Linked DNA regions of Homo sapiens: regions 1 and 2 are each linked to region 3. Evidence: promoter capture Hi-C in human tissues and cell types (Jung and others, 2019). All regions are on one chromosome and are shown on one strand. Each heading gives the region's core, a stretch centred on a gene start or on the middle of the fragment in contact. The rest is flanking DNA. Distances are from core to core; before and after follow the strand shown.

Region 1 (4,093 bases), core at 779-3,278, 610 kb before region 3:
TTTAACCTTCCTGTCTTGGACTATTGCACCTGTGTCCATTTATTCATATCTTCAAGGTTTTATTTCTATCATAGATTAGTTACACTGTTCCCATTAATGTCATTCTTAGTAAAATACCTACCAATAGAAGAATGATTGAATAAACATTCATAGAATACCCTAAAACCAAAGAAAGAATGAAGATGATTTCTATGTGTTGGTATGGGAGTGATCTCTCTAAGATACATCATTAAAGTGACAACGACAATATTAAAAAAATACAGTATGCTACTACTTTCTGTGTAAGAGAGGAAGTAATAATACATAAAGCTACTGGCTTTTTTCGGAAAAAAAAAAAGAAAAGAAAAGAAAACCAGAAGGATAAACTGAAATTAATTAAAAATGATTACCTATGAGAGACAGAGAATGGGATAAGAAATAGGAAGAATTTTAATAGTTTTCTAGTTAATTTTTACGTTTAAATCAAATTCAAAAGATAAAACTGAGCAAAAATGAGTATTTCTAACTTTTTAATATTTATATTTTGCGTGGACTCTCACTTTGGTTGTTATTCAAAGTGGTTATTACATAATTTCGGTTTTTGTTCTTCTAAGCTCTATTTTGCCACTCAAATTGAACTTAACCCTAGTTTTATAGCCAATTCCTTAGGATTTGCAGATAAACCTTCCCTTAACCATAAGTAAGGAAAAATTTAATTTTCCTTTCTAACATTTATACCTCTAGTTCTAATTCATGTCTTATTGTATAGGCCAGAACTTTTACAAGAATATTTGTAGATCTTCCAGGGTGACTTCTTTGCTGTAAAATTTGATGTACCTTTAACATTGTAGTTTCCTTTTTTTTTTAGAGACAGAGTCTCACTCTGTCACCCAGGCTGGAGTGCAGTGGTGCCATCTCGGCTCACTGCAACCTCCACCTCCCAGGTTCAAGTGATTCTCCTGCCTCAGCCTCCCGAGTAGCTGAGACTACAGGTGAGGGCCACCACGCCCTGATTTTTTGTATTTTTAGTAGAGACGGAGTATCACCGTGTTAGCAAGGATGATCTCAATCTCCTGACCTCGTGATCCGCCCGCCTCAGCCTCCCAAAGTGCTGGGATTACAGGTGTGAGCCACCATGCCCGGCCAACACTGTAGTTTTTAACAATCACCCACAAAGCTGCTTCAAAACATACATGTCTGGGAGTTTAGCCCCCACTGGGAATAATTCTGATGCACCTCCATTATTAGTAACTACCTCTAGGGTTCTTCTTTCTTTTTTTCTTTTCTTTTCTTTTTTTTTTTTTTTAGAGGAGGTTTTGCCACATTGCCCAGGCTGGTCTCAAACTCCTGAACTCAGACAATCCACTTGCCTTGGCTTCCCAAAGTGCTGGGATTACAGGTATGAGCCACCACGCCCAGCCTAGGATTTTTTTTTTAAACTAATAAATAAATACCCAGCAATCCCACTTCTAGGTATTTACCCAAAAGATTCGAAAACAGTATGTCAAAGAGATGTCTACACTCCCATGTTCATTGCAGCACTATTCAAAATACCAAGTACGGAATCAACCTAAGTGTTCATCAACAGATGAATGGATAAAGAAAATGTGGTCCTAAATAAGTATACATAATGGAAAAGCATTCAGCCTTAAAACAGAGAGAGATTCTGTCATTTGTGACAAACATGAATGGAATTAGACAATACTATGCTTATTAAGTGAAATTAGCCAAATACAGAAAGACAAATACTGCATGCTCTCACTTATATGTGGAATCTAAAACAATCAAACTCATAGAAACAAAGAGTAGAATGGTGGTTACCAGATATGGTTAGAAGATAGGAGAAATAAGTTTTTTTTTTAATAAGATCTTATTGCACAACACAGTGAACATAGCTAGTAACATTTTAAAATTGCTAAGAGTAAATTTCAAATGTTCTCATCACCTAAAAAATGTAAAATAGTTGTGGAAATTGATTAACATATCAGCTTGATACATTAGTTGATTTAAGCATTTCACATGGTAGTCGAAGATCGTAACATCACTCTGTGCCCCATAAATATATACATCTATAATTTTTCAATAAATAAATATAAAGCTGTCTGTTGACTATAAAGATTCCCTATAATGTTAAAGAACACTTTTTCTACTTCTTTTTAAAAAAATTATTAATGGGCATTTAATTTTATGAAACCTTTTAAAGTTTCTATTTAAACTCCAAATAAGCTAATGGATTCTTGGAGTCAGAAGTCCGCGTGCTTACCCCAGTTCTGTCATTCAGTAATTGTGTGACCTTGGGCACACTGTCTGACATTTCCATGCTTCAATTTCTTCATCTAGGTAATATAACCCTAGAGAAACCTTAGAATTATTTTGATAACTAAATAAAAATATAAAACCGCTTATAACAGTGCCTACCTAACCCAAAGTAAGCAGTCAATAAATGTTAGCTATTATTACATCTGATGAATTAATATATTTCTTAATACTGAACTATTTATGACTTCTGGATAGAGGATATATATCTCTATCAAGGTTTTAGTCCAGTAGACTTAGCCTAATTTAAATCTTATTATTCCTCCAATATTCTGATAAATTCTACCAGTTAATATTTTAAGGAACACAACTATATTCAAAAAGTGAAACTGAATGATAGCTTTTTTTTTTTTTTTTTAAGTGTTACCTTTGTTTCTTTGTATTCCTCTTTGGCCTGCTTACTTTTTAATAACTGAGAACATTTTGTAGTATACAGAAATTGTTTATTCCTCAAAAAAAGTTCTGAAGAATTTACCAGCAAATGTATCAAACCCAGAGTTTTTCTTTTTTTAAAAAGTAGTTCTTTGATAATATTGTCAAGTTATCAGTATATCACATTTTATACATTATTTTCACTGCATATACATGTAGAAAAAAACATTTGGAATGTTTAATATATCTGGAAACTTCATAGAGGTTTCTGAAATTTATTAACATATAACTGTGTAAATGTATTGCTCCTAATATTTATATACATATATTTCTTCTATGTGATTTAAATCTACTTTCTATGGTTGATTTTGTTTAATCAGATCTGCAAGAAGCTTATATATTTTGCCTCTTTCATAAGCCTTTTTCTTTTAAGGTTTATTTATTAATTCCACCTTTTTTCCTATTTTTAAAAAATCTTTATTTTTAATTTTTGTGGGTATACAGGTGTATATATTTATGGGGTATATGAAATATTTTGATACAGGCATGCAATGCGTAATAAACTATTTTTTCTAGTTTCGTATGGTGAAATATTGCTTCCCCCCCTCAAAATGAACATATCTTTTTTATTTCCAATTATAGAAAATATGCAATACTCACTGTAAAAAACAAAAATTAAAACCACAAGAGATTACAAAATAAAAGTCTACCCCATAATCTAGCTGCTTCCCTACAGGATGAAGAAAACCCCTGAACATTATGAAAAATTTGGTATACAACTATAGGGACTTATAAGCACACATAAATCTATGTAAGAGTGTGTGTGTGTGTGTGTGTGTGTGTGTGTGTGTGTGTGTGTAAATACAATTATTTTGCAATCTGCTTTTTCATTAAGATTTTAAGTTTTGAGGACATGTTTTCATTTCAACATATACATAAATTATCTAATCCACTTCAATGTCTGCAAAGTATCCACTATATAAACACAATTTAAAAATAATTTTTACCTTTATCTTTAATATACTACTTCTATTTTTCTTAAATTTTATACTAAATTCTTGGTTCTTCATCTTTTTAAATCATAAAAGCATGCAGTGTTTTCTTTTGGCTTTTCATTAATGCCTTATTTTCATAATTTATTTTTTTAATGTCATTTTAAAAATCTTTGTTTTAGTATACTCACAACAACAACTTTTATAGTTTCTGCTGTTTTGAATTAGCTATTATGTTTACGGTCAAGTATATATATAGCTTTATAAATATTGCAGACACTTGAAAAGTAACTGGGCCAGGTGCAGTGGCTCAGGTCTGTCAACCCAGTGCTTTGGGTGGCTGAGGCAGAAGGATCACTTGAGGCCAGGAATTTGAGAGCAGCCTGGGCAATATAGTGAGACCCTGTCTCTACAAAAAATAACTTTAAAATATC
Region 2 (3,641 bases), core at 7-2,506, 660 kb before region 3:
GTCTCTATTTTTAACATTTTAAAATATTTTTTACTTTTTAACTTTTTTGTTAAAAATGACACACACAACACATTAGCCTAGGCCTACACAGGGAGGTCAGGGTCATCGATGTCACTGTCTTCCATCTGCACAGCTTGTCCCACTGCATGGTCTTCAGGGAAAATAGCATGCATGGAGCTGTCATTTGCTATGACAACAATCTTCTGGAACACCCACTGAAGGACCTGCCTGAGGCTCTTCTTAAGGAGGTGTCACTCTTTTCAGAAATATGTCCATGGTGTTTGGCTTGGTTTCTTTTTTATCATAGGTTTGCTTGTAAGTAGATAATGTACCATAAACATTCCTCTCTATTAATGAAAACCTTTCATTGTTAGGGCCCATGTTTTTTTTGTTTGTTTTGTTTTTGAGATGGAGTCTCGCTCTGCCACCCAGGTTGGAGTAGAGTGGTGCACGCAATCTCGGCTCACTGCAACCTCCGCCTCCCAGGTTCAAGTGATTCTTCTGCCTCAGCCTCCCGAGTAGCTGGGATTACAGGCGTGTAGCACCACGCCCAGCTAATTTTTGTATTTTTAGTAGAGACGGGGTTTCACCATGTTGGTCAGGCTGGTCTCGAACTCCTGACCTCATGATCTACCCGCTTTGGCCTCCCAAAGTGCTGGGATTATAGGTGTAAGCCACAGCGCCCAGCCAGGGCCCATGTTTTTAAATTTTTTAAGGAGCTTGTTGAGGTCTGCAAAAGCTTCTGCTAAACCTTTCACTGTGAATTTTCTTGGAGGTTCTTCCTTTTTGTCTCCTGCAGTTTCCTTTTCTCTTGCACCTTCTTCAGCTGCGTGTTCCTGTTCCAGTTCCAACAGCTCATTAGTCAATTCCTCAGGAACCACATCTAGGAGCTTCTCAATGTCATCCTCATCTACATCTAGGTTAAAGTTGTTTGCCATGTCAACCACAGCCTTGTCCATTTCTGCAACCTCTTCATCCTTAGCAGATTCTTTGAAGTCATGAACAAACTTCTTCAGTGTCTTCTAGATGTCATTCACATACTCCTTGGTGACATCAGTCCATGCCCAAGCAAGGTTCTTGATGCAGTCATAGCTGTTGTAAACCTTCCAGAATTGCATCAGTGTCCTCTCGGTGTTTTTCAGTTGCAGCAATAGCCTGGGCAAAGATCCTCCTTAGGATCTTTTAATAGGCCTTAAAAACTGCTACAACTCCTTGATTCATTGGTTGGATCAAAGAGGTGGTATATGGAAGGAGACACAACACTTTGATATTGGGATGAAGATCACCAATGAAATGAGGATGTGTGGGAGCATTATCAACAAAAATCATCATCTTGAAAAGTATGTTACTCTCTCAACAGTACTTCTCCATTTTGCTGGCACAGCAATTCGGGAGGACATCCTGGAAGAAAAGCTGGGTCATCGATGACTTCTTATTGCTCCTGTAGTACACGGGCAGTGTGTGCTTGCTGACATGCTTGAAGGCTCTGGAGTTCTCACTGTGCCAGATCACAAAGGGTTTCAATTTGTAGCCTGCAATATGGCCCCAAGCAAGACTGTTATCTTGTCCTTAAAAGCCTTGAAATCTAGCATTGACTTGGCTTCTTTATGGATGAAAGTCCTTTCAGCCATTTATTTCCAGAATAGGGAGGTTTCATGCGTATTGAAAATTTGTCTGGCAAGTAATCTTCCTTCATAATCAGCTTATCTAGAGTTTCCAAAAATTCTTCAGTTGCCTTCACATCTGCATTTGCAGACTCTCCACTCACTTTGATATTACATAATGAATAATGATTCTTCAATCGTTTAAACCACCCGGAGCTAGCAGTACATTTAACACTGTAGTTGGGTCCAGTCTTTTCTTTAAGCATTGCAAACAAACTTTTTGCTTTGGCCATGATCATTATGGTGCTGAGAGGGATATGTTTCTGTGTCTGGTCTTCAATCCAGGTCACTAACAAGTTTCTCCATATCTGATACAGGCCCTTCTCAAATTTTTGTTAGTCTTGTTGCCTTGAACAAAGCAGATCCTTTAACAGCTTCTATCACTTTGTTCTTGTTCTTTAAGACTGTAGCTATGGTAGAATGGGACTGCCTGACTGGTGAGCAATAACTATCACTGATCTTCCACTTTCATCGTCCTTAATCACTTAATTTTTTTCCATGTCAGTCACTCGATGTGGCCTCTTACTGGCAACATTAGCTGTGGATTTTGTATGCTTAGGGGCCATGATGAACAAAACAAGACAAGATTTTCATCAAGCACAAGAGGAAATGATGCAATCAAGAGATGTGGCAAACTGGGATGTATGAGGCTGTCCTGGAATAACATGGCACACTGTTTTACAGCAAACTTAAAAAAAAAAAAAGTAGAGGTACACTCTAAAATAACAATAAAAAATATAGTAAATGCATAAACCAGTAACAGAGTTGTTTATTATCGTTATATTGTACATAATTATACGTGTGATACTTTTACATGACTGACAGCATAGGTTTGTTCACACCAGCAACACCACAAACATGTGAGTAATGCCTTGTGCTACAATGTTACCATGGCTATAATTGATGTAGGGATTTTTCAGCTCCATTATAATCTTATGGAATGCATATATGGCCTGTCATTGACCAAAATGTCATTATGTGGCGCATGACTGTATTTTTAATGTACAATTAAAATAATAGTAAATTTTTCATAACATACCTGATTGTCTCCTGATAAGAAAGGAAAGAAATCTAATCCTGTGGAAGAAAAAATTATTTCAGTTTAAAAAAAAAAGAAGGAAAAACTCTTCCAAATGCCCCAATACTTCAAAAACAAATACAAGTCTTATATGCTATGTCACTCAGAATTTTATTTAAACATGAAGAGTTGAGCTAAACGTTTTACGTCTCTCCTTTCTTTAGATTACTAAGGCTGAAAACTAAGCTTTGGCAATGATTTGTCTTCTCCGTGACCCCATTTGGGGGACTGGGGCCATTACTACTCTGTCAGATCTAACACTGATCCTTAAACGGGCATAGTACTTTTAACAAATGCTCTGGACTCCTCTTAAGGAAACTTTCAATCTGCTCTAAGTTACTCCTCACAAGCACTTCATGAGGTATGTAATTAGTTTTGCCCTCATTTTGCAGGTGAGAAAGTTTGAAGTTGAAAGAGTTAGGTTAAGTAAGTTGTAGTACTGATTTTTCTTTCTTAAATTTGCTCATTTGCTATCAGATTCAACTGACAGACTGCAGTGGCATGAGGGGAGAAGAGGTTTGAGTGCCTGCAAACTGGCTACTATTACATAAGAAGGAGTAGTTCTGCTACCTGGCTGCTGAGGATTCACTGCAAGGAGGCCCCTTCCAATTAACATTCTTTTCTAGATCACCCAGTGTGTAATGCGATGAAGAGCAAGTGAACAAGCATGAATTAAATGCTTCATTATGATATCTAAACTTGGGGAAAGGTAAAACACGCAGCTATAGATAAATATATTACAACACCACAGATACTCTGGGCATCTACTCACTGTCTACATTATAACCGATTACAACACGAAGGCTTACAAAATGCATAGCACTGTTGTTCTTGATAGTGACAGTGCGTTTCATACATGTAGAAAAAAAGGTATAGAAAGATATCTAACCGTTAAGAGC
Region 3 (3,816 bases), core at 1,047-3,546:
TATTATTTACAAAATGGAAAAATGAATTTGGAAGGGAAGAAGAGGAACAAAATCCTAAGTATAATATTAATAGGATATGTACTTTATCACCCAGAGAGACGATTGTACCTCACAGAATAGGAAAGGACCTATTATCTAATTCACATCCCCTCTACCTTCAGACAAAAATTAAAAATAAACGTTACCAGATGTGTTCACCACTTTAAAATATTTTTTAATTCCCTTTATCAGTATATCCCAATTTGTATTAAAGCATGCATGAGCAAAAAGTTGTCCTTTTTGCTTAACTTAGAACTCTTACTCCCATTTTAGCAGGATTTTTAGAATGTCCAAAAGACCATACAGACCATTAAATCACTCTCCCACATTAATAAACAAAACAAAACAAAAAACACTACAACTGTTGTTTCTTTCAACTTTAAAAGGTTTTACTTTTCTATGTGTGGAATGTTCTGAGTATCCACTTTTTTTGGATGTCTTAATCTCTAAATCTAAAAGAGAGGCCCCTAATCATTAAGGTGCTCTTAAACAAAATGTCAACACTAAAAATGTGACTTTAAAGGAAAAAAAGGCATTTGGCTCATGGTTTACCTATAACTCTCCCGTTATGCTTTTCCTAACCTATTATTCTTTAGGGAAGAATGATTTCTTACTTATGAAAAATGCTAAAATAAACTTATACTTCTCGAATCTAGTTAACACTCCAGTCTTTCCAAATAATTTCGAATTGAATTTCCTAAGTCACCTCACCCTTCAACTTCAACCAACCTCCAAAGTAGTGGGCATGCTCTATACAGTCCATCAGCCAAATAATAAGAGGCATTTTTAAAGGATAACACGTTGCTAAACAATTATCTCCTTACAGGACAGTCCAGTGGAGTAACGGCTCAAAAAGCCCACGACTGACATATGTGTTATTATAAGCACAAATACACAGACTATTTTTAACCTTAATGGACGATCAGATTATGTAATAGTATTAGTAGTACGGCTGCGCAGGGTTTAGTTTTAATCCTGGCTTTAAAAACCTGGCTGGGTAACATGGTTCATTCAGCTCCATGGCTAGATTTTGAATCACTGAAATCTAGATTGATTTTATGCCAGCTATTAGTAAGTTCAAAACATCTTGAGGCCTTCTGTTTTCCCCTGACCTATAAAAGATACACCCATGTCCATGTTCGTACCTCCCTCTTCTGTCATTAAACCAAAAGAAAATAAACACCTAGTGACAGTAAACATCCTCAGGGCGTCTCCATGAAAATATACAAATATTAAAGATCTTTAAAAATCTTTTAGGCCTAGCACCTCAGGAAGCTGTTATGTCTGGTGAAAACCTTTGGTGCTTTTAGTAAAACGAACTTGCCGGGAATTCATACAAAGAAAACAAAAGAAACTTAAAAGAGTAGTTCCAGTTATTGCAACATAAACGCAGCTGCAAAGTGATGTTCACGGGAATGAGTCCTGCCATGCAGTAGGACGGATGTCAACTTCAGAGCCACTTTCTAGGGGGCGTTTCCTGACGCCCCCTGGCTTACTGCCCAGGCCAGGGGTCTACTCTGGTTAACATGGGCAGGACAGGAGGGCGACCCGCCCCTCCCTAGGCCCGAGGACGCGCCCGCAGCAGGCGAACGGCTTCGGGTGCCAGGAGCTCAGCAAGCTGGGGACCCCCTGGGCGAGGAGTACAAAGGACCCCAGGCGAAGCCGGCGCCGGGAGGCAGAGCTGACTCCCGCGGGACTCTACCGGCCTGCGAGCGTTCGTCACGTGCTCGGTGGCTGAGGGGCCGTCCCGGCCGGGCGGGCTTCACCGCGTGGGCGCGGCAGTCGCCACTCACCGAGGTTGACGACCTTGAGCGCCGTGAAGAAGCGGTTCTGCCGGGCCAGGTCCTGCCAGGGAGCCTTGGAGCAGTGGTACTTGATGAAGGGGAAGCAGCCGGTGCGCAGGACGTGGTAGTTGGCGCCCTGCACCGGCCAGTTGAAGTGCGAGAGGCCGAACTGGTCGTTGCGGACGGCGCTGTAGGGCACGCAGAAGGAGGTCCAGTGCGGCAGGCGCCGCTGCAGCAGATGCCGCGTCAGCACCTCCGAGGCGCTGGGCTTGGGGCGGGCGGCGGCGCGCGAGGCCCACGGCCTACACAGCAGCAGGCGGAGCGCGACCTCGTGGGCCCTCCTCAGGGCCTCCATGGCCCGCCGCGCCGGGGACGCAGGCTGGTGTCCGCAGCCGCTGGCGCGCAAGCGCGCCCCCGGGCGAGCGCCGGGAAGGCCAACCGGCGCCGCGCGGGTGCCCGAGAGCCCCCGGTGTGCGGCGGCGCGTGCGCACAGCGGCCCCGTGGCCTCCCGCTGGGGGTGGAGTCCGGGGGATGGGAAGCGTGAGCTGCGCGAGGCGGAGGGTCACCTGCGTCAAGGAGCTGGTTTTGAGTGGCCAGGTGTGACCTCACGCCGTCATTAGTAACTCGGGCAGGGGAGGGATTCGGGGAGGTCTCATCAATTTGGGCCTGAGGAAAATTCAGGTGGAAGACAATTAAATAACTAACCACCTCCGCAAGGTGCAGAACTCAAACCCAAGTCTCCCTCCCACGCCCTGGGCTCCAGGGAAGCCCTTGGGTGTTGTTGTTGAAACAGGACGAGGCGTGACCCCGGGTCTGCGTTGTTTGGTAAGGCCGGGAGCACTTTTGTGTGTAGGTCCTCGCTGTCGGGTTCACTGTTTAAAATTAGTCCCAGAGATTTCAAAATCAAAAGTTTATTTAAAAACCTCACGTGTCTCAGTGCAGCGTCCGAACACACAAAGGCACCTCCCTCTAAGAACCTGGTAGACGGACCAGGAGCCTCTTATCGAGCTTTGTGGACCTCAGTCACCCATTACCAATCCATTACTTTCGGAAAAGCTTTGCTCAAACTTTGCGGCCTCTTGAGGCAGTAACTTACGGACAAAACTGCTTTTAGAAAAGGATTTCCTCTTTTGTCCTAAACTCATTTTGTTTGGAGAGGCCATACATAAACAAGATGATGTGTCTGAAACCACCTTATGTAAATGAGGTACAGTAATTACGCGTTAAGCATCATATAACAATTACTATCGTTGCTAAAAACTCAAGGGGGATGTAGGATAGTATGGCGAAATTTTATATTCCCCAGTTTTTTGTTTTGTTTTGTTTTGTTTTTTTGAGACGGAGTCTCACTCTGTTGCCCAGGCTGGAGTGCAGTGGTGCAATCTCAGCTCACTGCAACCTCTGCCTCCCAGGTTCAAGTGATTTTCCTGCCTCAGCCTCCCGAGTGGCTGGGATTACAGGCGTGCACCACCACGCCTGGCTAATTTTTGTATTTTTAATAGAGACGGGGTTTCACCATGTTGGCCAGGCTGGTCTCAAACTCATGACCTCGTGATCCACCTGCCTCGGCCTCCCAAAGTGCTGGGATTACAGGCGTGAGCCACTGCACCAGGCCTATTCCCCAGTTTTTATTGAACATTGAGCACCCACCAACATATGCCGAATCTTGAACTTTACCTTACAGAATTTGAAGTTGAACTTTACCTTATAGAACTTGAACTTTATAGAATTTCTTTTTCTTTTCTTTTTTTTAGAAAGGATCTCACTGTTGTCTAGGCTGGAGTGCAGCTGCTCGATCTCGGCTCACTGCAACTTCTGCCTCCTGGGCTCAAGAGATCCTCCCACCCTCAGCCTCCCAAGTAGCTGGGACTGCAGGTGTGTGCCACCTACACTCGGCTGCTTTTTTTGGTATTTTTTGTAGAGGTGGAATTTTGCCATGTTGCCCAGGCTGGTCTTGAACACTTGGGCTCAAGTGATCCGCCCGCCTCGGCCT

The links. The method cuts DNA at HindIII sites, captures the fragments that hold promoters and counts their contacts. A contact is called where the count stands out against the background at its distance.
Region 1: a fragment that was not itself captured here is called in contact with the fragment with the promoter of C15orf61 in region 3 in 1 of the 25 tissues and cell types used here (mesenchymal stem cells).
Region 2: a contact is called between a fragment that was not itself captured here and the fragment with the promoter of C15orf61 in region 3, in 1 of the 25 tissues and cell types used here (lymphoblastoid cells).

Annotation. Positions count from the first base shown.
Region 1 is chr15:68,129,228-68,133,320 of GRCh38, reverse strand. The region is part of intron 2 of PIAS1 (protein inhibitor of activated STAT 1); the gene reads right to left. Among named protein-coding and RNA genes, the nearest start is that of CALML4, 74 kb to the left of the region's middle. The HindIII fragment of the contact is 5,073 bases long and covers 1-4,093 here.
Region 2 is chr15:68,182,730-68,186,370 of GRCh38, reverse strand. It overlaps PIAS1 (protein inhibitor of activated STAT 1), which reads right to left. Exons shown (of 14, transcript NM_016166.3): 13 at 2,704-2,741. It overlaps LOC105370871 (a long non-coding RNA gene), which reads left to right. Exons shown (of 2, transcript XR_932396.3): 1 at 1-3,103; 2 at 3,220-3,641. Among named protein-coding and RNA genes, the nearest start is that of CALML4, 21 kb to the left of the region's middle. The HindIII fragment of the contact is 6,521 bases long and covers 1-3,641 here.
Region 3 is chr15:67,519,611-67,523,426 of GRCh38, reverse strand. It overlaps C15orf61 (chromosome 15 open reading frame 61), which reads right to left and starts at 2,296. Exons shown (of 2, transcript NM_001143936.2): 1 at 1,833-2,296. The coding sequence starts at 2,178. It overlaps IQCH-AS1 (IQCH antisense RNA 1), which reads left to right and starts at 1,583. Exons shown (of 6, transcript NR_040052.1): 1 at 1,583-1,908. RefSeq lists enhancers at 1,870-1,989, 2,630-2,709 and a silencer at 2,100-2,449. The HindIII fragment of the contact is 11,118 bases long and covers 1-3,816 here.